7 separate regions of the Homo sapiens genome follow, and regions 1, 2, 3, 4, 5 and 6 are each linked to region 7. Evidence: promoter capture Hi-C in 16 types of primary human blood cells and fetal thymus (Javierre and others, 2016). All regions are on one chromosome and are shown on one strand. Each heading gives the region's core, a stretch centred on a gene start or on the middle of the fragment in contact. The rest is flanking DNA. Distances are from core to core; before and after follow the strand shown. Region 1 overlaps SLC4A7 (solute carrier family 4 member 7). Region 2 overlaps SLC4A7 (solute carrier family 4 member 7). Region 3 has its middle 18 kb from the start of SLC4A7. Region 4 overlaps SLC4A7 (solute carrier family 4 member 7). Region 5 has its middle 50 kb from the start of SLC4A7. Region 6 has its middle 110 kb from the start of SLC4A7. Region 7 holds the start of ZCWPW2 (zinc finger CW-type and PWWP domain containing 2).

Region 1 (3,384 bases), core at 534-3,033, 900 kb before region 7:
AGGCTGGTCTTGAACTCCTGACCTCCTGATCCGCCCACCTCAGCCTCCCAAAGTGCTGGGATTACAGGTATGAGCCACCGCACCTGGCCTAAAAAGATATCTTAAGAAAGAAGAGCTTAGCCCATCTGAGATCATACTATGTAGACATATATTTATTCCATCTACATTTATGGCCAACCATAGTTAGTAGAGGTCCTTAAGAGATATATTTTAATAACAATTAAATACTTTATAATAAATATAATATATAAATAACATTTTAGTAACAATTACTTTATAATAAATATAATGTATAAATATTTACAAATATTTATTTACTAATTTTTGAGTTTTGAAAAAAAAATCAATAAAGACCAAAATAAAAATAAAGTCCAAATTACTGAGAGCTACATTAAATGTAAATAATCCAAATAAAGGTTAGAAACTGTCAGATTAAATAAAAAAGCAGTAAGTAAAGTTATTGCATGCTTTTAAACTAGAAAAAGCTACTGCTGATATTGCATTATCCTAACTTTGCAGTATAATAACAAAATAGTTATGAAAGGCAGTCTGTTTTTGACCACTAGATGAAACTGAATCAGGAAAGCTACAGAGCTAGGAGCACTATGTCAAATATCAAATGAGTGTTGAGTGAAGAGGGATGTGAAGTACAAGGTCAACTAATCTGCAACTATGTACACAATTTAAAAAGTTAATAGGCTGAAATACAAATGATTAATGACATTCCTTTCCTAAAAATTCCATAAAATGCTCAGAAAATAAGTATTTCAAGAAACTTAGGACTGCCATCTTTATATGTGACTTGAAAGTACAGTTGATCCTCATTATTCATGGGATTCCATATTTGCGAAGTTGCTGACTCACTAACATTTACTTGTAACCACAAAATCAATACTTAGGGAGATTTCATGCCATTTTTCGGACAGGCACAGAGCAGCATAAAATTTGAGTTGCCTGACACTCATGTTCCCAGGTAAGGCTTAAAAATGTGATACTCTGACATCTTATTTCAGCTGCCAATATATTAACCTCATAAATAATCACCTTTTAAATTAAAAGAGGGACAACTTAACAAAACATACTGAACTATTTGTTTAAACTTCTCCCAGTACTCAGCCTAGCACATGGTAAGTACTCGATAAATGTCTATGGAATTAAATCTCAACTACTAGAAAACAAAAATTCCAAATGTAAAAGCTAATTATACAGGGTTTATTTTTGGAATTATAGATATGTTTCGAGAATTAGACAGTGGTGTTGGTTGCATAATATAGTGAATACATTTAAAAAAGTGTGTAATTTAAATGGTTAATTTTATGTTATGTGAATCTCATTTAAAAAGTAATAAGAAATAAATATAAAAAAACTCAATTTTATTTTAATGAAACTATTTCCTTCAAAACATAAAGAAAAGTGGAAATTAAAGAGTCAAATTCCCATCACTGCACTGGGAATTACAAAGTTGTTCCTCCAATTAGTACTAATGGGTCTTGGCACAGAAGCCCCAATGCACCAAGATAAAAATAAATGCTATGAGTGTGCAGTTTAGAAAGAAAGGGATAGATAAAATAAATAAAAACACGCTAGAATCCAAAGATTGGTAGATTAAGCTTATTGTGTTTTCTTCTTTTACTATTGCCTCTAGTGTCCTCTGTTTTAATCTTTTTCTTTTTCTTTCCTTTTTCTTCTGCCCTTACTTTATTCTATCAAAAGCCTATTTACTCAAACTCTCTTAAACTTAATCTCTCCCTCAAACTTGATACCAAACTTGAAGATGTGTACAAAGTATGCAGAGCTTAGGGCCTGTGATAACCAAAGGAATCGAAGGAATATCCAGGTTATGTATAGGTGAGGGTTGACATTAAACATTAAATGTATGACTGTACATTTGAATTAGTAAAATTACCGCTAAAAATTTTAACCTCCCTAGCTCCTATAATTCACAGGATCTAACCATAAGCTTCTAGATAACTGAGGTTCTTTTTGGAAACCCTAACAAGCCTAGGCTCTTAAAGCCAATTTTTAGAGTTAAAAAAAAAAATCGTTTAGAGTTTAAAAAAAAGTCTTAGAATATAAATGAAAACATTTACAACATAAATCAAACTTTGTTTCTCTGTCCATCTCTTTTTTATTAAAATAAACAATAACTCAATATAGTACTAGCTCTCACAGAAGAGTTTAACTTAAGGATGTAGTTCCTATAAACATCCCCCAAAAATGTCTATCAAAATATTTGCCTTAAACACCACTTTAACCACATGTTCATAGTTAACATCATCAATAATAAGTCATGTTGATATCATATTGTCCACAGATATGGTGCACTGAAAAGGGAACATTACTTCTGTGGTATGCTTCCCAAATAACCATAACCTCCACCTACTCATGCCAAAACATCAGACTAAACCCAAACTGAGAAACACTGTACAAAATATCTAACCACTACTCTTCAAAAGTGTTAAGGTCATGAAAAACAAAAAAAGAATGAGAAACTGGTATAGATTAGGAGACTGAGGAGACTTGCAACTAAATGTACTGTTACAGATCCTCAACTGGATCAACTGAATCCTAGAACAGAAAAAGGCCATTAGTGGAAAAACTAGTGAAGCCTAAATAAAATCTGTGGTTTAACAGTAAACTAGTAATTAGTCAGATTCTAATTAAATTTGTAATTAACCAATGTTAATTTCTTCATTTACACAAATGTATGATGGCTGCGCAAAATGTTAACATTAGGAGAAACTGGGTGAAGTGTATGGAGGAACTATGTGCTGTCTTTGCAGCTATTCTGTAAATCTAAAATTATTTTCAAAAGAAAAGAAACCATTTGCCAGGACTTCTTCCTGTCTAAGGAAGAAAGATGGGCAAATAACTCAGTTGCTCTACAACTCTATGGAGAGGTTATTGCAACATTTTAAAAGGCTAATGTAACACCTATAAAATGAATGTTGAGATGACAATTAATGATAACTGTGGTTTATTAGTCTGGCACTCTAGTGTACTCATAACACAAATTACTCAGCCTGCTAGAAATGAAAAAAATAAGAGTTAACTAATTTTGTGACTGTGTCCTTTCAGTTTTCCAAGTTAAGGTAATTAATGGTAACCATCACTAAATTTTGAGAAGCATTATGAACTCTATCTTTTGCCAATACTTTCAAATGGCACTCTTCTCAATGTACGCTTTACCTTACAACAATAACAAAAAAACTCAACAAATACTAGGTAAAACTTAAAAGGATACTTAAAAACATTAATTAGTAAATTATCCTACTAAGCGAAGTAAGTTATTTTAAACCAACTTACTTTCTAGTTCTTCTTTTTCAAACTTGGTGTTCACAGTTGAGCTAGTTTTGCCAAGATCCACAACAGCTTCTTCATCAG
Region 2 (3,859 bases), core at 618-3,117, 950 kb before region 7:
TGAGGTCATTTCCCCTCCCCCACAAATACTTTTATTTATGAGCGTTTTATACATATATTTGCCATATTATAATTTTTTTTGTTTTTTGAGACAGGATCTCACTTTGTCACCCAGGTTGGAGTGCAGTGGCCCAATCACGGCTCACTGCAGCCTTGACCTCCCAGGTTCAAGCGATCCTCCCACCTCAGCCTCCTGAGCAGCTGGCACCACGGGAGCATGCCACCATACCTGGCTAATTATTTTTATTTTTATAGAGACAGGGTCTCATTATGTTGCCCAGGCTGGTCTTGAACACCTGGCCTCAAGCAATCCTCCTTCCTTGGCCTCCCAAATTGCTGGGATTACAGGCGTAAGCCACTACACCTGGTATACATTATTTTAAAAATATATACAGCTTACCACTGAAATGCTTGCTATACTAAAAACCTAATGAAATTATTTCCCAAGTAAACTGTGGAAAACAAACCTAATTTTAGGTATTTTAAGTATATTTTAATGTTTCATGTTCACATAACTAAGTATAAATGTTATAATAAGATTGTAAAACACGGCAATAAAGAAATTTTACCTTTAGGACTGAAGTCATGAACACAGAGAGGCCCATTAGAATAAAAATCATTAGCCCTGTAACCCGCTGTTCACGAATTCCCAAAAACTTGGGTTGTTCCCCTGGAGCAGAACATTCAGATTCAACTTTTAAGCTGTTGACATGACTTATTGACAACACTGTTGCAGCCACAAACCATGGAAGTCCCATGACAGAGCAAACTCCCAACATAACGCCAACCATGAGCAAATCAAGGTGATAGCCAGCTCCTTTCTGAAAAGTGAAATGAACATAAATATCTGTAAGTCTAAATGGTTCCCTCAATTTAAAATTCTACACGAATTATAAAGAGGGAAGAAGCTAATTTTCATCTTACATCTTTTAATGTTCTAATCATTACAAAAACAGCTCAAACCCTTGAAGAATCACAATGCTTAAGGCAAAATTCTAAAATTACCTTCAATTTGTGTTCCTTTCTGTTTATAATTACAGCTGTGATTTGTTGATCCATAAAGATGAGAATGGTACAAAGCAAAGCAGGAATAGCAGCTATTAATAAGGTCCACCAAGGATTATCTCCCAGTGGGCTTATGATCCACCCTCTCTCTGGATGAGTAGGCTGTTAAAAAATTAAATATAATTTTCAAAAAGTCTCCTTGCTGTATTGCACTAAATTTCCATAACATAGACTTGATCTGTTCCAAGAAATACCCAACGAATGGGAAATAACTTAAATCTTGAACTACATGGTGAATTATTTTCAAAGATGGCCACAGTAATTCTTCCTATCCCTATAACTATACCTCCTGTCATTTGACTCAGTCAATCTTTCCACCTAGAGGTGGAGTCTGCCTCCTTCCCCCCTGAAACCAGGATGACCCTGTGACTTACTTTAACCCACAGAATAAGGCCAAAGTGACACTATGTGATTTCTAAGTCTTAACCTTAAAGAACCTTGCAGCTTCTTCTCTAACCTGCTTTGAACCCTGAGATTATTACGCTGTCGAGTAAGCCTAGATAAGCTTTCTTGAGGATAAGACTATCCTCAATATAGTCTATATGGTAGTGGGTGTCGGGGGCGGTTCCCCAGGCAACTATTCCAGCTGTTTCATCCATCTGAGCTGAGGCCTCAGACATATGAATGAAGGCATATTGCCCCCATTGATGACTGCACCCCACAGAGCAGACCACAAACCAGCTAAGCCTAGTCTCAACTGCCACAGAATTATAAACAAATAAAGGGCTGTTATTCAAAAGTTTGTTATGTAGAAATTGATAAGCAAACTGGAATGTCATTTCCACATGTTCCTGCATAATTCATATAAGGTGAAATCAATCTATCCACTAAACTCCTAAACTAAACTGCTTTAGTCTAGTCCTGCAGACTTAGTGATTTTGACAGGGTCAGTACTAAATCAGAACTGGTCCACAATACATGGTATTTCCAAAGGAACTACTAACAAAAATCTGGCACTTTATGAGATACTAATACATTTTGACAGTACAATGTAAGATTTTATAGCAATTTTTTTTTAAAGATCAAGAGAGTTTAGTATGTTTGGGAGAATACTGCATATATAGAAACCTAAACATATGTTTTTATTACCTCAACTTGGTATTAAGCTTGTTTCTTCTTCATGAAAACATTTGTCAATATAAAAGGGAAATTTAATACTTTCAAAGTTCAGGTAATTCAATCTTTCCACACTAATATATATTAAACTACCTCACACTCAATGTTGTGTATGAACAAAAATATTTTATTCTACTTATACAATGCCATTTACTCTTAAGAGTTCCTTGATTTGCTTCCTCAAGTATATTTTATGCCCCTTGAAATCAGCCTATTACCTGAAAGCCATATCAGTAAATAAATAACAAGGACATATTTAAGAATCAGAATAAGGAACTTAGGCCAGGATTACAGGAAATTACATCACGTTTTGAACCAATATTAATTCATAGTTTCATTTATTTATATATTCTCATAAAATAAACCTAAAGTTTAATATTTTCATATTTTTACATTAAAAACATAAGACTTTCTAAAAATTGTTGGCAGATCATTTTCCACCTGTGTACCCTACTTTAAAGACCACTGATTTTAAAAATAACATTTTGGTCTCAGTGCAATATTATAAAATTAGATTTTATAATATAAAATAAAATGATCTTCATTATATTCCTTATTTCGGATCCCCTTTAAACCAGCTGCTTCTGAAAGAAGTCATATAACTTGTTAAATTAAATATAACCAGTGACACTATTCACAATGTCTTTCCTTTTAGCATAAGCAAAGGAGGATGGAAGAAAACAAAAACAGAGCAGAAGGAAAATGAATATATTCAAATCTGCTAATGAAAGCAGAAAATTCAAATGGATGCTCAGATCATTTTTCTTATAGAACACACTTCGTTTTCTCCTTATGCTACTGGAAATTGTTACATGGAATTTTCCAACTACTGTCAGATATACTACCCTTCTAGAAATTTAACTAGACCCTCTCTGCCACTCCTAGAAAATTGAATTTTAGGTTACTTTTTTTTTTTGAGATGGAGTTCCCCTCTTATTGCCCAGTCTGGAGTGCAATGGCATGGTCGCAGCTCACTGCAACCTCCGCCTCCTGGGTTCAAGCGATTCTCCTGCCTCAGCCTCCCGAGTAGCGGGATTACAGGCGCCCGCCACCACGCCTGGCTAATTTTTGTATTTTTAGTACACCATGTTGGCCAGGCTGGTCTTGAACTCCTGACCTCAAGTGATCCACCTGCCTCGGCCTCCCAAAGTGCTGGGATTACAGGCACAAGCCACTGCACCTGGCCTGGGTTACTTCTTTATAAAAAAATAAAGGCTGTTTCCTTCTCCCTGGAAGGTACAGCAAGAACTCCAGGTAGGAGAGCAAAGACTTTTTTTTTTTTTTAATGGCTCCCTACATCTTACCACAAATATTTTCATTCACTCTCTCTAATGGACCAGCGGTGATACTTTTAAGTTCACATGTCTCTTTTCTGTCCATATTGTCATTGTTTATATACATATGAAAAACACATATAAATTATTTCCTTTCAAAGCATCAGCCCTTCAAAGAGACTACATACTTTTAAAACAATAACTACTGAGAAAATAGTATCTTGCTTTAAAGTAGTGTGGTATTCCCAAGTAACAAATAGCCACTTGTTTTAATCCTTACCTCAAATTTTTCAGGAACATGAAGTTTAGGAGATGGAACTCCTACAAGGTAGTCAATTGTAACCATTATTACTATTGTGAGAAATACAGCAAAATCACTGATTGTCGATCGCACCTATGTTAAAG
Region 3 (3,613 bases), core at 299-2,798, 850 kb before region 7:
ACTTGAGGTCAGGAGTTCGAGATGAGCCTGACCAATATGATGAAACTCCATCTCTACTAAAAATACAAAAATTAGCCAGGTGTGGTGGCATGCACCTGTAATCCCAGCTACTCAGGAGGCTGAGACAGGAGAATCTCTTGAACCCGAGAGGCAAAGGTTGCAGTGAGCCGAGATGGCACCATTGCACTCCAGCCTGGGCAACAAGAGCAAAACGCCATCTCATTAAAAAAAAAAAAAATGTTATAGAAATCTGGGGACTGCAACACCCTCAAAAACCTTTCTCTAGTTTTTAATAATTAAATTAGAGATGGCTACTGAATATTAGCTGGTTGAAATATGGCATTTGCGTAGGTAGATCAACAGTAAACTTCTACATACATAGGCACTGAGTAGGTGTTTATAAAATGCTCACTGAATCAATTTGTCAGGACAAAACTAATTCTGGAAAGTGAAATACATGGAGTCATCTTCCTGTTTTCCAGCTGTAGCCTGTCAGCACCACTACCTCCACTGTCCATGGGGATGCCAACTCTGCCCTTACTTTTGGCCATAATATCTACAGAGGCCTGTTACTACTGTGACCTGGGCTTCAGATGACTGGGGTCCTGTTGCTCCTCCATTCTTGACTCCTGGCTAAGCCTTTCCCAGCCATCCACATGCAAACCTTAGTTGAAAAGGCCTAGTCAGGGATCAGCAAATGACAGCCCATGGGCCAAAACTGACCAGCTGCCTGTTTTTATAAAGTTTTATTGGAACACATCCATGCTCATTCACTTATGTATTATTTAAGGCTGACTTTGGTGTTACAATGGTGGAGTTGAATAGTTGTGACAGAGATCATCTAACCTATAAAGCCTAAAATATCTACTATGTGGCCCTTCTGAGAAAAACTTTGTTTACCTCTGACCTAGATGCATAAGGCCAGATAATAATAATTATTGGGACCAGGCATGATGGCTCAGACCTGTAACCCTGGCACTTTGGGAGGCCAAGGCAGGTGGATCACTTGAGGTCAGGAGTTCGAGACCAGCCTGGCCAACAGGGTGAAACCCTATCTCTACCCAAAATACAAAATTATCCAGGTGTGGTGGCACGTGCCTGTAATCCCAGCTACTTGGGAGGCTGAGGCAGGAGAATTGCTTAAACCTAGGAAGCGGAGGTTGCAGTGAGCTGAAATCGAGCCACTGCACTCCCCTGGACAACAGAGTAGTGTGCAGTGACACAATCATAGGTCACTGCAGCCTTGCGCTTCTAGGCTGAAGCGATCCTCCCGCCTTAGCCTCCCAAGTGGTTAGAACTACTGGCACATGCCACCACACCTGGCTAATTTTTAAATATGTTTTTGTAGAAACAGGGTCTTGCTATATTGCCTGGCTGGTCTTCAATTCCTGGTCTCAAGCAATCCTCCCACCTCGCCTCCCAAACTGCTGGGATTACAGGGATAAACCAACACACCCCGGCCTATAATAAAGTTCTTGTGTGGCATTTACCATATGCCAAGCAGTACGCTAAGGTCTTTGCATATGTTAATTCCTTAGTCCTCACTACAATCCTATGAGGAAGCTGAGGCATAAAGAAGTTAAGGTAACACAGCTAATAAGCCTGTGTCTGGCCTAGATAGAGAAGGTATTGCAAAATAAATAGATTATCACAAGGATTCAAGAAATGAACAAAATCATAATTTGGAAGCTCCAATAAATCAGCAAACAAGTCATGGTGGAAATTATGAGAATAATGTGATTGTGGAAATAGGTTATTCCTAATAACCACATTCTGGCCAGCTGCAGATTCCTTTTGTGTCTGGGATTATGTGAAAAAGTAATGTTTAAGAAAATAAAAAACCAGGCCGGGTGTGGTGGCACACGCCTGTAATCCCAGCACTTTGGGAGGCCAAGGTGGTGGGGGGGATCACTTGAGGTCAGGAGTTCGAGACCAGCCTGGCCAACATAGCGAAAACCCATCTATACTAAAAATACAAAAATTAGCTGGGTGTGGTGGTGGGCACCTGTAATCCCAGCTACTCAGGAGGCTGAGACAGGAGAATCACTTGAACCCAGGAGGCAGAGTTTGCAGTGAGCTGAGATCTCGCCACTGCACTCCAGCCTGGGCAACAAAGCAAGTCTGTGACTCAAAAAAAAAAAAAAGAAAGAAAATAGAAATGACAATATAGAAAAATGGAACTGACCAAAAAAAGTTTTTTTTTTAAAAAAAGATATTTACTATAGAACTTCTACATTTAAATTGTAATTTCTGCATCAAGGTAGTAACCTTGGGATACTCTACATTTATTAAGAAATAATTTTTGGCCAGGTGCTGTGGCTCACGTTTGTAATCCCAGCACTTTGGGAGGCCGAGGCAAGTGGATCACAAGGTCTGGAGTTTGAGACCAGCCTGTCCAACATGGTGAAACTCCCATCTCTACTAAAAAGTACAAAAATTAGCTGGGCATGGTGACATGCACCTATAATCCCAGCTACTCGGGGAGCTGAGACAGGAGAATTGCTTGAACCCAGGAGGCGGAGGTTGTGGTGAGCTGAGATCGCACCACTCACTCCATCCTGAGCGAGAGAGTGAGACTCCGTTTCAAAAAAAAAAAAGGAAAGAAATAATTTTCAATGTTTGTTTAAAATAATTTTATAAATTCATATAAGGACCCCATATATATATATATATATTTTTTTTTTTTTTTTTTTTGAGGTGGAGTATCACTCTGCCACCCAGGCTGAAGTGCAGTGGTGCAATCTTGGTTCACTGCAACCTCCACCTCCCCAGCTTTAAGCGATTCTCCTGCCCCAGCCTCCCAAGTAGCTGGGAGTACAGGAGTGCGCCACCACACCTGGCTAATTTTTTGTTGTGTTTTTTTGAGACGGAGTCTCGCTCTGTGGCCCAGGCTGGAAGGAAGTGGCATGATCTTGGCTCACTACAACCTCCGCCTCCTGGATTCAAGTGATTCTCCCACCTCAGGCATCTGCCACCATGCCCGGCTAATTTTTGTATTCTTAGTAGAGATGGGGTTTCACCATGTTGGCCAGGCTGGTCTTGAACTCTTGACCTCATGATCCGCCTGCCTCGGCCTCCCAAAGTGCTGGGATTACAGGCATGAGCCATTGCGCCCGGACTAATTTTTGTGTTTTTAGTAGGGATAGGGTTTCACCATGTTGGCAAGGCTGGTCTCGAATTCCTGACCTGAGGTGATTCACCCTGCTCAGCTTCCCAAATTTCTGGGATTACAGGCATGAGCCACCATGCCCGGCCAAGAAACCCAATATGTTTAATTTGTGGTTTCATTGTTATAAAGCTTATTTTAGTCTCAAGTCATATGATTGCTATTATTTAGCTTTATAGTGCACTTTATTCGCCAAATGTGATCCCCAGAGACTTCTGGCTACTTTCAAAAAGTAAGTCCACTCCAAAGTAATTCCAAGAATAGATTTTCCAGTCTTGTCTGAATAATTCACTGCTTAACACCAGAATCTGGCACATAGTAGATGCTCAAAAAACTGTTAAACAAAGGAGTGACTTTCTCAAAAGTTCCAAAGTATTTTAAGAAATGACAACACTGTTGGAAAATCTCTCTAGGTGACTGCTTTGAAGAAACAACATGCAGTTGGTT
Region 4 (3,380 bases), core at 801-3,300, 920 kb before region 7:
TGTGCCACAACTACAGTGCCAGGAGGCAGACTCCTGCCCAACAGGAGACAAGGAAGTATACACAAAGATAGGCCAAGTAAAAAAAAGTAAGACTGTGACAGAGGAACAAAAATAAACGGCAACTGCCATGCCTAGAGGAACTCTATAATGTAAATTATATTAATTTATTCATTTAACAAGAAATAAATTGCAATTTTGTTACTAAGTACTTTGCACTATCTGAAATAACATGAGCACCAGTAAAATGTGATCAGGATAGATCAGAAAAATTTAAAATACAACAGCCTTTCTGCACAGCCAATGTCCGTAATGCTAGGCTTCCTATAGTTTTAGACTACAACACTCAACAAAGCTATAATGCAAACCATTTAAACTCCTTTTCTGTAAAATATATCTTGTAGACTTTTCATCAAAGACTAAAAGGCTTAAGAAATGAAATCAGCTTGACATAATTACATTTATTAAAAAGTCTTATACTGGATACAAAAATATTAAAATACCATGAGCATCTGGTATTTTACTATAGCAAATTAATACTACTAAAAAATTAGTGGCTAGATAGAATCAATTGTTCATAAGAAATACTCATAAAGTACATTTTACATTCAGTTACAATTTGAACTTAGTAGTCTTTTGCCCTGTTCTTTTAAATTAAGGTTTATCTATTTCAACAAAATACTCATTTACCAAAATAAAAAAATCATAGTTCACATAGGTATTTTTTTGTAATCCATGCCTTTAACCTACCCATGGGGAAGCACCAATATATTTCTCAGTGACATTCCAAAAGTACTGACACCATAAGACAGTAATTCTGGGATCGCATTACAGCCCAGGAAAGACTGAATCATTAGTGCTGTAACATCACTCCCAGAATTAACGTTCTAGTGGTGGTAGCTCCAGAACAAATGACTGTAGTTCAAAAAGTACTGACGTTTCACGATATCTATGGGTAGGTATGGATGGAAATATCGTATTATTCACATATTCTTTTTCAGAATTTCTAACACTAGTAATGGTGTAAAGTTATTCAAGTACTCACAGGTTAACTGTAACCCTTCTCACAGTTTTTACCTTAAATTAACATATCACAGACATCACATGCAGGTTTGTAAGCACCAGTCTACTAAAAAATTACTATCATCAATGTTAATAATATTAGCCACAAATTACTACTTATTTCCTCAGTAAGAATAATTATGAGAATTTTCAGTTAATGATAGAATTACCTTGCTGAAGTCAACAGTACTATTTTCTCTGCTTCCACCACTTCCATTACCTTTAATTTCTCCACTTTTACTATTGTCCAAGTTTCCAGGAGCAGACTGGGGAGAGGCCAAAATACCTATGTTTAAAGACAAATTCCAAATTAGTAAGGAGAAAATTCACTTTGCAACCTGATTCTGCTCACATTCTGAAAGTGATGATTTATGAATATTATAAAAGCAAATGTGCAAGGTTAAAAAAAATAAGTGCCCGGTGTTAGTAACATACCAGCAAAACTAGAACAACATTTTAAGCAATACCAAAGCTATACATTTTAATATTTAAAATAATACAATTAGAATTTACAAAAATTGTGGCCTTTTGCAAAAAGAAATAAAACGTGAGTTGGTGTGAACCACAAAAGATGGAAGACCTGAGTCTGATTATCATTAAAAATACTTAGGGAATATACTTTTAATTATCATAAACATGTGAAATGCATGGAACTTAATGAAGCCTAGCTGTACTTAGCATGCTTTCAACAATAAATTCTCTGACAAACCCTAAGTGTAACTCAGAAAAAAGCTACACTAACTAAATGCAGATTGAATTAACATAATCTCCCATAATCAGAAGTTTCCTAAAGACTTTTCATTTTTCTTTGTTAACATTTATGTCTATAATACCTATTGTCATTACTCCTAAGAAATCCAACTTTAAAATATAACAAGCAAGTTTTTTGCAATGAAATTGGCAGAGTAAGAGTTTTATAACCAAAGGGATCTGTGTTTAAATTATGCACTCTCTGCCACTTTGTATCTATGTGACTGTAAGAAACTCACTCCATCTCTAAGAGTCAGACAAACTCATAAAAATAGCTTATTTGGATTAGAAATGATACTTGTTTGGATTTCAAAGGACAGACACATATTGAAGCATTAGTATATTCATTTCAAAAGTGACATTCAACACCAACATTTCGCAATAATAAAAACACAGCTTAATATGAGACTAATCATTAACACTATGAATTCTAATTCTGCAAAAAAGTTAAAATTTAAAAAATTTCAAATTCAGCCGGGTGCAGTGGCTCATGCCTGTAATCCCAGCACTCTGGGAGGCAGAGGTGGGTGGATCACCTGAGGTCAGGAGTTCAAGACCAGTCTGGCTAACATGGTGAAACCCCATCTCTACTAAAAATACAAAATAAGCCGGGCGTGATGGCGTGTGCCTGTAGTCCCAGCTATTTGGGAGGTTGAGGCAGGAGAATCGATTGAACCCAGGAGGCGGAGGTTGCAGTGAGCCAAGATTGCACCATTGCACTCCAGCCTGGGCAACGAGAGAGAAACTCCGTCCTAAAAAAAAAAAAAAAAAAAAAAAGGGCCAGGCGCTGTGGCTCACCCCTGTAATCCCAGCACTTTGGAAGGTCAAGGCGGACGGATCACCTGAGGCTGGGAGTTCGAGACCAGCCTGACCAACATGGAGAAACACCCTCTCTACTAAAACTACAAAATTAGCCTGGCGTGGTGGAGCATGCCTGTAATCCCAGCTACTCGGGAGGCTGAGGCAGGAGAATTGCTTGAACCCAGGAGGCAGAGGTTGCAGTGAGCCAAGATTGCACCATTGCACTCCAGCCTGGGCAACAAGAGCAAAACTCTGTCTCAAAAAAAAAAAAAAAAAAAAAAAAAAAAAATTTAAATTCAAGTACACTACACAGATTTCTACTACTAGGTTGGTGCAATTTCCTTTGCTCCAACCTAATATTAAATGCATCTCATTTTTTTCAAAACATCCAAGGTTTTCTAGTGCAAGAATATAGACTAATAATTCCTAAAACACTGAACATTATAGGAGGAAAAGGTACTGAAATACAACAGACTTTACTTTTTGTTTTAACTGTCCCATGCACAGCAACACATGGAAGTTCAGTTAAAATCTGTTTTGTGGTTAGATTCTATAAGCTCTGAAGATGTACTGGTAATCAAGTTCCAGAATTTAAAGTACATCAGATATACCTGACACATCTAAAGGAGTTTTCACTTTTGTAAAACAGAATATACTATAACCAATGAATACTGAAACTAAGTCATCTGGGTTTACGGCTTACGCTTTATGACAGAGACTGCTGTCATCGTCACTTCTCTGTAAATACCTAAACTACAATGTTGATGTGA
Region 5 (3,467 bases), core at 135-2,634, 810 kb before region 7:
ACAGGGTCTCTGAGAATCTCCGGATTGGAAAGTAGAGAACTTTAGCCCCAGGCCTGGGCCTTGCCTCCAGCACAGACTCCCAGAGGTTATTAGGCCTTCAGCTGGTGCTTCCTAAGTAGAAGGGTATTGTTTCCTATCCAGTCACCGATCCTTTTGTGTGCCCTCCCTTGGTTCAGAATCCCAAAGAGAATGAATGGGAGAACTCGAGTTCTAAATTCTGTCTTAGAAGCACTCAAATACAGTTTGTAGGGAGACTCCAAACTGGTCTCTCACTACCCTGACAGCCTAAAAACGCAGCTGGAATTTTGCATTCTCTTCCCCTAACCAATTAGTATATGCATTTCAAATACTATGCATAATATGCATATTAGTATATACAAGATAGGCTAAACACTGTGTGAAACTAAGAAGGTAAACCCTCTCCTAGCTTACAAACAATTGGTACAATTAAAAATATTTGACAATGGTGAAGGCATGGGCAATGGCTATTTACAAATCAAAATATAAATATTTTAATATTTTAGTAATAGGCGTGGTGGTACCAGTGTGTCTCAGTTAAATAGTAGTCTTGCCCCAAAGCGCTTTTGAATGCTTTGCCACCTATGCATCAGTGGATTCAGGAATGTAATGAGAGTTCTCAAAAGTAATGGAAGCAAAGCCAAGCAAGTCTCCCACTCCACACATCTTGCTTTTCCCTTTCTGTGTTGAGCTTTGGATCTTCCACAAAGGGGACTGGGTGCCCCTGCGGAAGTCCAGCCAGGGAGTAGTCAGACCTGGGGGGAGAGGATGGATTACAAGCCTGAATTTGCCTTCCCTACCAGACAAGCTCTGGCTTGAGGAATAGAGAAGTGAAAGAAAAAAGAGGTGCTTCGACTCAGTTGGAGACAGGGAGGGTTATGAGTGGAGTGAAGACAAGGCTCTTAATTCAAGCTGCCTCAAATTACATTTGTCCACACACGCAGCAAAATGCTGCTTAAAAAATAAATGAGGTTAATTTCTCTTTACGGGTTCCCTTTCATCTCAGGGTTTCAAAGCACTTTGCCACAAAAGATCCTTTATCTTCACAATTCTTTTTTTATCTAAATATAAACAGAGGGCCCTAAGTTTATATTTAAAGTTCAGTAAAGCCCTAAACTTTGGAAAGAAAAGGTACTTTAAAAATTCTTTTATCATTATAAGATCCAAGTAGCCAATCAAGGACCACACAGACAGAAAATCCACATTCAGATGAAAGGCCACACCTCTGCTCAGATGACCTGCGTGCTAATTAAAATCACAATTAAAACAAGCAGAGGGGATGGAGAGTGGTGACTTAACTTGCCCTTATCCCAGCAGATACACTCACAACTGACTCACACAGGATACATCGGATTTTCTCCAGCAGGCATTTGGAAAAAAGCAAAGAAGAAATTCTAGTTTTAGCTGCCCTCCATCTACTAACCCAGTAAACTCCATCCCTGGGTCGGTGACACATCCCTGACTCGCAGCCACCTCAGCAGAGCCCCATTCCGTGCAGGAAGAGCCAGCTTGGCCTCCTGGTGATGGGAATGTTGTTTGCATATGCATTTTTTCAGCAAAAGAAAGTCTCAAAATCTCCCTGGTTCCAGGGTGTGAGTCATTAGTGGGTGTTTGTTTTTTGGGTTCTGAGTGTGAGTCACCACCTTTCCTGCTGTTGGTCTTCTCAATCCTAGGGTAACAACTAAAAAGCGATGACTAGAGATGCCTGTGATGCTTAAAAGCGGACACCTGGACATTATTCATTTGGCAATTGTATCAACAATTAATTTTAAAGTTTGTTCTTTTCTCTGTAAACAAGTGTATAACGTTTATAAATAACAGTGGGAAAGAGGAAGGTGGGGGAAGGGAGAGAAACAAATCTAAAAAGGATATGACTGAGGTAAACGGAAGTAGAGTCTAGTCAAAGCCAAAATAGACAACTGCCTGTTTGTCAGCTAGAGGAGGGCCGGGGCTGGTGATGTTGACCAAACTCTATACATGAACAAGCATCTGATGCTGCTCTCTAGGACTTTTCCTCATTAGCCTGGGAGTGTGCGTCGGGAGGGCAGTCAGGAGGGACTGCCAGTGTTAACCATCAACTCTAGAATCTGAAAGAACAACATGGCTTTGAAATGACATCTTCCGGCCGGGTGCGGTGGCTCACGCCTGTAATCCCGGCACTTTGGGAGGCCAAGGCAGGCAGATCACAAGTTCAGGAGTTCGAGACCAGCCTGACCAACATGGTGAAACCCCGTCTCTACTAAAAATACAAAAATTAGCCAGGTGTAGTGGCATACGCCTGTAATCCCAGCTACTCAGGAGGCTGAGGCAGGAAAATCACTTGAACCTGGGAGGTGGAGGTTGCGGTGAGCCGAGATAGCACCATTGCACTCCAGCCTGGGAGACAGAGTGAGACTCTGTCTCAGAAAAAAAAAAAAGAAAAAAAAAAAGGACATCTTCCTGATGTTCCTCCCATTGGTGCTATGCCTGGTACCGTTTAGTACTGGGAAAGGACCTCAAGACCACCCAGAATTCTACAATGGAGAATGTTCTATAAAGTCACGGTGTCATGCCAGGACCAGGAACCAAAAAACAGCAGCTTGAAAACCAGTGATTTGACAATTTGGGCTACCCTAACGGCTAGTTTTTATTTCAGTGACATTGGGCAATAAATCAAGCCATTTAAGATGGTTGAAAGAAATCAAGATGACCACACACACACACACACACACACACACACACACACACACACAGAGCAGGTTTTGAGCTCATGGAGGACTCAACCTGGATTTGACTCAGAGAAGGCATTTGGCCACAGGCATTTCAGTTTGCTTTCAGAAAGTGAGGAATTACAAATGAAAAAAAGCTCTGACTTTTCAGCTGGTTTGAGTGTGGAAATCAAAGCTTGGCTTTTTTCTACCCAGAGGAGTCTAGGTACTCTGTGTCATTTCTAGTATATAATTACAATATATCTGTATGCCCACATATTGTCACTATATTAGGTATTTTACAAAGCCCAGAAAAACAGAGCCTCTGTCCTGGTGTTCCAAATGTTAGTCAACCTATTTAAACTCTTGGTAACAATGCTGAGGTAATGAAAATGAACTCAGCTGCCACTGTTGGCACAGACACAGCGGAAGGAAGAAGTATTATTTGATTCAAAGCATTCTCATTTAGGGGAGAAAAAATTATAATGCATATCACCACTAAGTGGAAAATAAAGATTATAAACTTGGAGTTGTATTCCTGAGACCTTGACATTTTAAAATAAAAGGCTTCAGTGTTTGCAGAATATTTTTTCATTAATGTCTCAGTTACTTGTTTTTAAGGATAATTATTTGTGGATATTACAAAAGAACTTCCTGAACTACCCATTTACTTGTGGGCATATACATTTGAAAGATGCCCCAGGCCCATTCCAAAGCAAAACAACACACACACCTAATTGTGACTTTATGCCTAACTAGCCT
Region 6 (3,757 bases), core at 1,042-3,541, 760 kb before region 7:
GAAAAAAAAAAAAAAGAAAAGAAAATATAACCCATAGAATGGAAGAAAGGGTAATCTGATAAAAGATTTATATCTAGATATATTTATATCTAGAATACACATTTATACTCAGAATACATAATTTGGATTAAAACAATCCATTTTTGTAAGTGGGCAAAATGCTTTATTTTATTTTATTTTTTTGAGACAGAGTCTCACTTTGTCACACAGGCTGGAGTGTAGTGGCTCGATCTCGGCTCACTGCAACTTCTTCCTCCTGGGCTAAACTGATCCTCCCACCTCAGCCTCCCTAGTAGCTGGGACTACAGGTGCATACCACCACCAAGTCCAGCTAATTTTTGTATTTTGAGTAGAGATAGAGCTTTGCCATGTTAGCCAGGCCTGTCTCAAACTCCTGACCTTAAGTGATCCGCCCGCCTCGGCCTCCCAAAGTTCTGGGATTACAGGCATGAGTCGCTGTGCCTGGCTTTATTTTATTTTTAATTAACATGGAATAATGTACATATTTATAGGTACGACGTGACATTTTGATATCTGTATACAATGTGTAATGATTAAATCAGGTTCATTAGTGTATCTATTACTTCAAAACATTTATCATTTCTTTGTTTTGGAAACATTCAAAATCCACAGGGTGCCATACCTCATGCTGGTAATCCCAGCGACAGAACGAAGCTCTATGTCAAAAAAAGAGAAACATGCAAAATCTTCTCTTTTAGCTATTTGAAAATATACAATAAGTTATTGTTAACTATTGTCACCCTATAGTTCTATAGAGCACTAGAGCTTACTCTTCCTATCTATCTGTCCTTTTGTATTCCGTATCCAATCTCTATCTCCCATCCCCCACCCTTCCTAGCCCATAGTAACCACAATTCTACTCTATTTCTGTGAGCTCAACTTTTTAGCTCCCACATATGAGTGAGAACATTAGAATTCCATTGCTGTTACTGCATGCTTTTTCTCTATTCTATCTCTTTGCTCCTCCCAGGAGAGGAGATTTCCTCCTGAGCAAAGGAGGTGTGTGGGTTGGGAAGGGAAAGCAAAGTAAAGGGATAGAAAACAAAAAAGAAGATATAAATGCAGCAAAAAGTAAAAACAGAAGAGCCAAAGAATGAACACTAACAGGAGAAGAAAAGCAAGAATGAGAAAGATAGGAATGCTATTCATCTTTCTGGCTTTCTCATCTCTTTTCTTCTCTGTTGATAACATAAAAGTGTGAAGAGGCTGATTTCTTTTTCAGCAAAAGCCTTCATGGAAAACACTGGTGACTGTTTTGTTTTCAATGGCTATATGCACAATGCAAGGTTGAAGAAGGAGAAATAAATTTTCTGTAAAGAAAAACAAAAATCAGTCCTGGAGTGGGAGGTGCATGCTGAGAGATGTAAATTCAATTAATCATCACTTTTGATAAAATCCAAGTCTTCTTGCACAATAATGGGTGCTGGCCTAGAATGTTACTTCCTCTTCTGTCTTCGAGGAGAGAAAAATCTGATTTCCAAAGAAAGAGAAATTCATCATCTCTCCTGGGTCACCTTCAACAACCACAGAGCTGGTTTTCTGAAGTGATGTGTCATAAAGTCACAGTACCCTTGAAGGTAACCGGAAATCATTGTTTTCACAGGGAAAAAGGCAACCGGAAGTTACAACTTCCACTGGAGAATATAATCATATCCTCTTGCCAATGTGGCTGGAACATTCCCTGACCACTGTAGCTTTTTGATACTGTCAGTGAAGGAAATAGTGATTATAAATCTTGATGAAAGATTACAGGAGTCATTTCAGCCTTAGAGAATTGCAATATGTTCAAGTGTTTAACATAATCTTAAAATGTAATAGGAACTGTTGTCTAATTTAATCATCAGTCTTTAGCTGTCAACACAGATGCATTAAGTTGGTAAATGGCAAAGGGAAAAATAAAGAAGTGGTTGTGCACAGACGAAAGGATACTTTCATTTCCCTTAGAGCTTGGTTTAGTCAACAGTTCCAAACAGTCACACAGCAGTCTGTTTGTATGAAATTTTGCCAGTGGGAATTAAGCTGAAAAAGAGTATTTTCCCTTCAGAACTTACGAGTTTCCAACTGGGACATTTTGCATAATAGATTCACTTTTCTATTGTGAACATGTGATCTACTTATGAAATGCTTCAACAAATGAAAGCAACAACAGAAAAGGCAGGACACATCCAGTATTATCAAGCTTCAATTGCTCTAAAAATTTTTCTGCAAACTCTCCCTCTTTGTTCCTTACTCTCCTCATAGCCTTCCTCTTTTCTGTCCCACCAAACCCCAAACTAACAAGTAGCAGAGGCATTTTGACGTTGAGCCATAAAAAATAATCACTATGACACACATGGTTCCAGGCCTGCTTTCACCTTCCATCAAAGCTTTGTCTCAACAACAGCTCTTTTCCAGCCTGGAATCTTGCCTTAAATTTTCGTGTCTTTTCCTCCCCAGAAGGACAGGATGTTAATGAATCACGGTCTACTAGGAAAAGCTTTTACCTAGGCTGAGGAATGGGCTTTCAAAGAAAAACCAATAATCTCCATCAAGTCCTGGAAGCAAACTAACATTGGGTCTCCCCTCACCATTCTAACAAAGCTGTGCTCTGTCTTCATTGCTCTCTTTCTCTCTTTCTTTCTCTAATACACATGTACTCATGCACACATACCTTGTCTTTTGAGTGAAAGTCTCTCTCTTTGTGACACACAAACACACATCCACACCCAAACACCGAAACACATACCCATTGTCTATTGAGAGAAAGCCTTTGGGCTTTATTGATAATTTTGACTCTGGAAATTAAGTAACTGTATCATTTTGGCAGGGACACTCGTGGGAGTTGAAGGTCAATATGCAGCTGGCTGCATCTTACAAATTGTTTCAGTAATTTTTGTTATCTCTTCCTGGAGCAGAATCTAGCTGAATACATTAGATGTAAGAACAAAGCCCAGCAGCCACAGAATTTGAATAATCACTTCCGGGGTAAACCACTCATGTCTCAGAAACCAGTTGGTGATAGACAAGATATGGAAGCCATGGAAAACCCATAAATCATTGACCAATGATGCCCGAAGAAAGGGCTTGGGATAAAATGTCAGCATGGGAAGAATAGAGCCATTTATACCATCTTTAATTACACTACAACTTAAATTATATTCAATGACATTACTTCATCTAGAGAGAAATACTAGATTCCCACAGATTTTGCTGTTTTTGAAAATCCACACCTGGCTGGGCGTGGTGGCTCACACCTGTAATCCCAGCACTTTTGGAGGCCAAGGTGGGCAAATCACTTGAGGTCAGGAGTTTGAGACTAACCTGGCCAACATGGCGAAACCCCATCTCTACTAAAAATACAAAAAAAATTTAGCTGGGCATGGTGGTGCACGCCTGTAATCCCAGCTACTTGAGATGCTGAGGAAGAAGAATCACTTGAACCCTGGGAGGCAGAGGTTGCAGAGAGCTGAGATCACGCCATTGTACTCCAGCCTAGGTGACAAGAGTGAAATTCTGTCTCAAAAGAAAATAAGAAAATAAAAAAGAGCCAGGCACAGTGGCTCACGCCTGCAATCCCAGCACTTTGGGAGGCCGAGGCAGGCAGATCACGAGGTCAGGAGTTCAAGACCAGCCTGGACAACATGGTGAAACCCCATCTCTAATAAAAATACAAAAATTAGCCAGGCATGGTGGTGAATGCCTGTAATCTCAGCTACTTGGGAGGCTGAGGCAGGAGAATTGCTTGAACCTAGTAGGC
Region 7 (3,648 bases), core at 124-2,623:
CTTCATAAGCATTCAGTAAATCTATGTAATACCTCTGAGGTTGTAAAGAATCTCCTCAGATTACAGGTGGAGAAATTGAGACATGAAAACATTAGAAAGTAGGGGAGCCAGAAATGAAAATCAGGCAGCTGACTCCAGAGCCAGCATAACTCTTAGAAACTATGCTTTGGTGCCTTAGAGTATGTATTACACCCATTTCAGAGATAAGGAAAATGAAGAAAAAGTTTAGCCTCTTACCCATTGTCAAGTAAATGGAAAAATCAGCATTCAGATACTGGTGTTCTGACCTAATCCAGTGTCATTTCCCATTATGTTATGCTGTCTCTTTAATATTAAAACCTTCTACTTGCGTAAGATGTCTGGCTTACAAACAATATCACATTAAAATTTGGAAATATCCTGTAAAGGATGCACTGTTCTCAATTTACAGATGATGAAATGATCACAAGATTGGGCAATGAGATATGGCGTTTTTAGAGAAATGAAATTCTGCCTTGAGATCTTGCTCAATCCAATTTGAAATTCCAATCTAAAAACCAAAATGTCTTCTACACATAAGGCGCAAGGGTCAATTTTAATTCTGGTACGTCTGTCTTTGATCACCTTAGCAAATTTCCATCACCTCTTGGAGCAACTGATGGTTTGATTTGTACTAGAGTTTTCGTGGGTATTTTATCTCGCTTTCGAGTATTGGGGTTTCTTTTGTGTAGAGGGTGTCAGCCTACCTTGCACGTAGTAGTAGTTACTCAACAAACAGCCGAAGGCTGGAATGAATACCGTATACAGGTTAGACATTGGAGAAACGACGAATACCTGTTAGCCCTCGATCAAGTGCAGGGGGTCGATATTCACCACTCAGATGCCCCAGGGAGTACCGTCCTAGCCAATGTCCCTCTTTTCTTTCCGATAATTTGTATCGGAAAGAAGCATTTAGCAGTCTCAATGAATGAAAAAAAACTGAAGGCGCCCCAGTAAGAGTACGAAAAGAAAAGGAGTAATTAGAGAAGTGAATGACCAAGAAGGGCCTGGACAGCTGGGGGTGAGGGTGACAGGGGAAAGGGTGTGGACAGCTGGGTGTGGGGGTGACTGGGGAAAGGGATGCCCAGGAGTGGGCCGCTCCCTAGTCAAAGGAGGGGGCGCGGGAGGGAGTGAGAAAAAAATGACGTGTCTTTTTGGACCGGCAACAGCTACGGAGGTTGGCCGCGGCATTGCCCGCATCCCTATCCTCCACCCGTCCCTGGCGAGTCACTCACCCAGAAGCCAGGCTACGTAGGGCCGCCCCCAAGGCCGCCGAGTTTCGATTCCTTAGTGTTTGGAAACGGACCGAAAACAAACCGGGTCGCCAGGGGTCACCACGGGCTTCCGGTTTCTTCGAAGACACCGCCGCTTCCACAGCGAAGGGAGCTGCTCCGGGCACGTCGCGGAGGGAGTCCCATTTCTTCTGACTCGGCAGGAGCCCGGGACGTTCTGGAAGGAGGGACGAGCCGAGGCAGGAGGGGCCGGGCCGACGCGAGAGAAGGCCCGTTACCCAGCAATACGCGCGCGAGACCCAGGCCCGCCGTCGGGACCAGCACGGGCCGGAGGGAGGGGAAGCACTCCGGAAAGTGATTGGAAGTGTGGATGAGCTCTCAGCCGGAAAAGGGGCTGCCGCTGTCCGCGGGCTCGGCGCCAGGGACGCGCGAGGAAACCGGAAGTCAGGCCCGAGGGAGCTGGGAGGGCGTTAGCGAAGCCAGGTTCGGTCGTGGGGGTGGGGAAGTGCAGGAGTGGCGCGCGGCGTACTACATGTCCCGTGAGCCTCCGCGGCGGGACGGGGCGGGGCCGCGGGACGCCAGGAGGCGGAGGCGGAGTGGAGTTAGGTAAGAGCGTTACCAGCCGTCTTGTCTGTTGGGCCGAGGTCCCCCTTCAGGGGCGCCCTCTGGTGCGTCTTTTTCACTCAGTGTCCTTTTGGGGGGTCCCCGGGCCGTGTGGTGCGTGCTGGCTCGGCTCAGTAGCGCTGTTACAGGCTTACGAGCTGACGTGGCTGGGAACTGGGAAGTCTGTTAGAAGCCGTTCCTCTGTAGCCTCTGTTTTCTAAACTACTTGCAAGCCCTCAGGCGATCACTTGAGGCACAAGCTCGACGAATTGCGTAGGGGTCTGTAATTATTCACAAACGACACCACGACTTCTAGCACACTGCTCAATTTATGGAATGAGAGACAGGGAGAAGATGCCAGAGTACTGGAGTTGCGCCCGGCTTCCCTGGAGTTGCCACCACCTTGGTTATTTCTAGATGATAGACCGTCCCTAGCTGTGGAGTCACAAGTAGTTGAATTAATTAGTCATTGAAGGTCGCAGCCAGGTGGAACCCCTGTAACTCTAAGGTATTATTGGTTAAATAAACAAATAAACAAGGAACAATAATTATAGAAAATTTAACGTCACTAACCGCCGATTAGCAATACGGACATTACTCACCACCCCCTTAAAGTAGTATTTTGTCATCTGTCCGCTTAACTATCAGCCCAACTGTCAGCCCAATAGGATGGATTTCACTCAAGGGTTTATATGAAAATTCGTTTTTATTGTTGTTGGTTTTTTTATTGTCTTTTTTGGTTTAGATTTAAGTGAAAATTTATAGCTGTTAGGAACAAAGACCACAAGTTGAAGTTTTATGACATTTCTAAAAATACTTAGAAATCTGTGTTAATGTTATCGTTGAGAAAGGAAACGATTTGCTTCAATTTACTGGGCTGGAGAATGGAAGAGAGCAGTGTTTTTAATATTTTGAGCAAGTATCAGTCCTTAAATTTTTTTATTGCTTCCATGATGCATTTTGAGAATTTTCAATTTAAAACAACCATTAGGTGTATGTTTTTACAAGTAGAGTTTTGAAGAATGCTAGCAAAATTGGTTGAGGCATCACAAGTTATTAGAAATAAAGTGGTAACCTGGTTTTTAATTTGAAGGTGTAGAAATATTTTTGAATCTTCGTTCACAATTTAAAATAATTTAAGAATTGTTGAAAAGGCAGGGGACATCATTTTTATCTTTTCTTTCTGAGTAAGTAAAGATAAAATGTCATAAATCAGTATTTTGAAGTTTATCTGGTGAGAGAGTCAATTTTTGTTTCACAGTGCACACTACACAGTGGGTTTATTAACATATAATGGGTTTATTAAGAAATGTATTTGCTTAACCAGGATGTACAAATTTTATTATTTTAGTCAAGTAAAACATCTTAGTTTTTCTTTTTGGGTTGTAGAACCCCTGCTAGATTATGACAAAATATAATCCGTATAGTCATTGGATTTAGCTGCAAATGGTCACTTTCCACCCTGTATCTGCTTCAATTAACTTTCTCAAATAAAATAAATTGTTAGAGAAAACTTGTTACACAGTTCATATATAATCATGTATTAAAGGTTTATTATCAGGGAAAGACCTCTGATAAGTTAATTAAAAGATACAGTCTTGATAAGGACATTTTATAGGAAAAGAGAATGGTTAGATAATTGTTAAGCTCTAAGAAAGAAAAGAATTTAGGGGTCCTGAATGATAATCTTAACTGATAGCCAACTAGTTCAGTGAGTGGTTGGTTTTCCAGAGCATCTTGATTCCATTGAAATTTATTGGAACTTTGCTTAGGGATTTTTTTCAGGAATTTTCAT

Evidence for each region. The method cuts DNA at HindIII sites, captures the fragments that hold promoters and counts their contacts. A CHiCAGO score of 5 or more calls a contact.
Region 1: a contact is called between a fragment that was not itself captured here and the fragment with the promoter of ZCWPW2 in region 7, in 3 of 17 cell types (naive CD4 T cells, naive CD8 T cells and naive B cells). The highest score is 5.9, in naive CD4 T cells.
Region 2: a fragment that was not itself captured here is called in contact with the fragment with the promoter of ZCWPW2 in region 7 in 8 of 17 cell types (total CD8 T cells, activated CD4 T cells, total CD4 T cells and 5 more); the score reaches 8.6 in total CD8 T cells.
Region 3: a fragment that was not itself captured here is called in contact with the fragment with the promoter of ZCWPW2 in region 7 in 1 of 17 cell types (naive CD8 T cells); the score reaches 5.4 in naive CD8 T cells.
Region 4: a fragment that was not itself captured here is called in contact with the fragment with the promoter of ZCWPW2 in region 7 in 3 of 17 cell types (total B cells, naive B cells and non-activated CD4 T cells); the score reaches 7.1 in total B cells.
Region 5: a fragment that was not itself captured here is called in contact with the fragment with the promoter of ZCWPW2 in region 7 in 1 of 17 cell types (monocytes); the score reaches 7.6 in monocytes.
Region 6: a contact is called between a fragment that was not itself captured here and the fragment with the promoter of ZCWPW2 in region 7, in 5 of 17 cell types (non-activated CD4 T cells, monocytes, naive CD8 T cells and 2 more). The highest score is 7.6, in non-activated CD4 T cells.

Annotation. Positions count from the first base shown.
Region 1 is chr3:27,449,111-27,452,494 of GRCh38, forward strand. It overlaps SLC4A7 (solute carrier family 4 member 7), which reads right to left. Exons shown (of 26, transcript NM_001321103.2): 2 at 3,307-3,384. Among named protein-coding and RNA genes, the nearest start is that of SLC4A7, 34 kb to the right of the region's middle. The HindIII fragment of the contact is 350 bases long and covers 1,609-1,958 here.
Region 2 is chr3:27,393,950-27,397,808 of GRCh38, forward strand. SLC4A7 (solute carrier family 4 member 7) reads right to left here. Exons shown (of 26, transcript NM_001321103.2): 18 at 3,735-3,848; 19 at 1,005-1,166; 20 at 569-820. Among named protein-coding and RNA genes, the nearest start is that of NEK10, 26 kb to the left of the region's middle. The HindIII fragment of the contact is 601 bases long and covers 1,568-2,168 here.
Region 3 is chr3:27,500,443-27,504,055 of GRCh38, forward strand. No RefSeq gene overlaps it. Among named protein-coding and RNA genes, the nearest start is that of SLC4A7, 18 kb to the left of the region's middle. The HindIII fragment of the contact is 3,495 bases long and covers 1-3,296 here.
Region 4 is chr3:27,422,808-27,426,187 of GRCh38, forward strand. SLC4A7 (solute carrier family 4 member 7) reads right to left here. Exons shown (of 26, transcript NM_001321103.2): 8 at 1,230-1,345. Among named protein-coding and RNA genes, the nearest start is that of NEK10, 55 kb to the left of the region's middle. The HindIII fragment of the contact is 6,675 bases long and covers 1-3,380 here.
Region 5 is chr3:27,532,528-27,535,994 of GRCh38, forward strand. No RefSeq gene overlaps it. Among named protein-coding and RNA genes, the nearest start is that of SLC4A7, 50 kb to the left of the region's middle. RefSeq lists enhancers at 77-1,019, 1,020-1,963 and a silencer at 1,331-1,625. The HindIII fragment of the contact is 3,030 bases long and covers 1-2,899 here.
Region 6 is chr3:27,589,086-27,592,842 of GRCh38, forward strand. No RefSeq gene overlaps it. Among named protein-coding and RNA genes, the nearest start is that of SLC4A7, 110 kb to the left of the region's middle. The HindIII fragment of the contact is 187 bases long and covers 2,199-2,385 here.
Region 7 is chr3:28,347,348-28,350,995 of GRCh38, forward strand. ZCWPW2 (zinc finger CW-type and PWWP domain containing 2) reads left to right here and starts at 1,374. Exons shown (of 10, transcript NM_001040432.4): 1 at 1,374-1,856. AZI2 (5-azacytidine induced 2) reads right to left here and starts at 1,477. Exons shown (of 8, transcript NM_022461.5): 1 at 1,254-1,477. RefSeq lists enhancers at 1,344-1,403, 1,591-2,571, 1,671-1,965, 2,004-2,083. The HindIII fragment of the contact is 7,230 bases long and covers 1-3,648 here.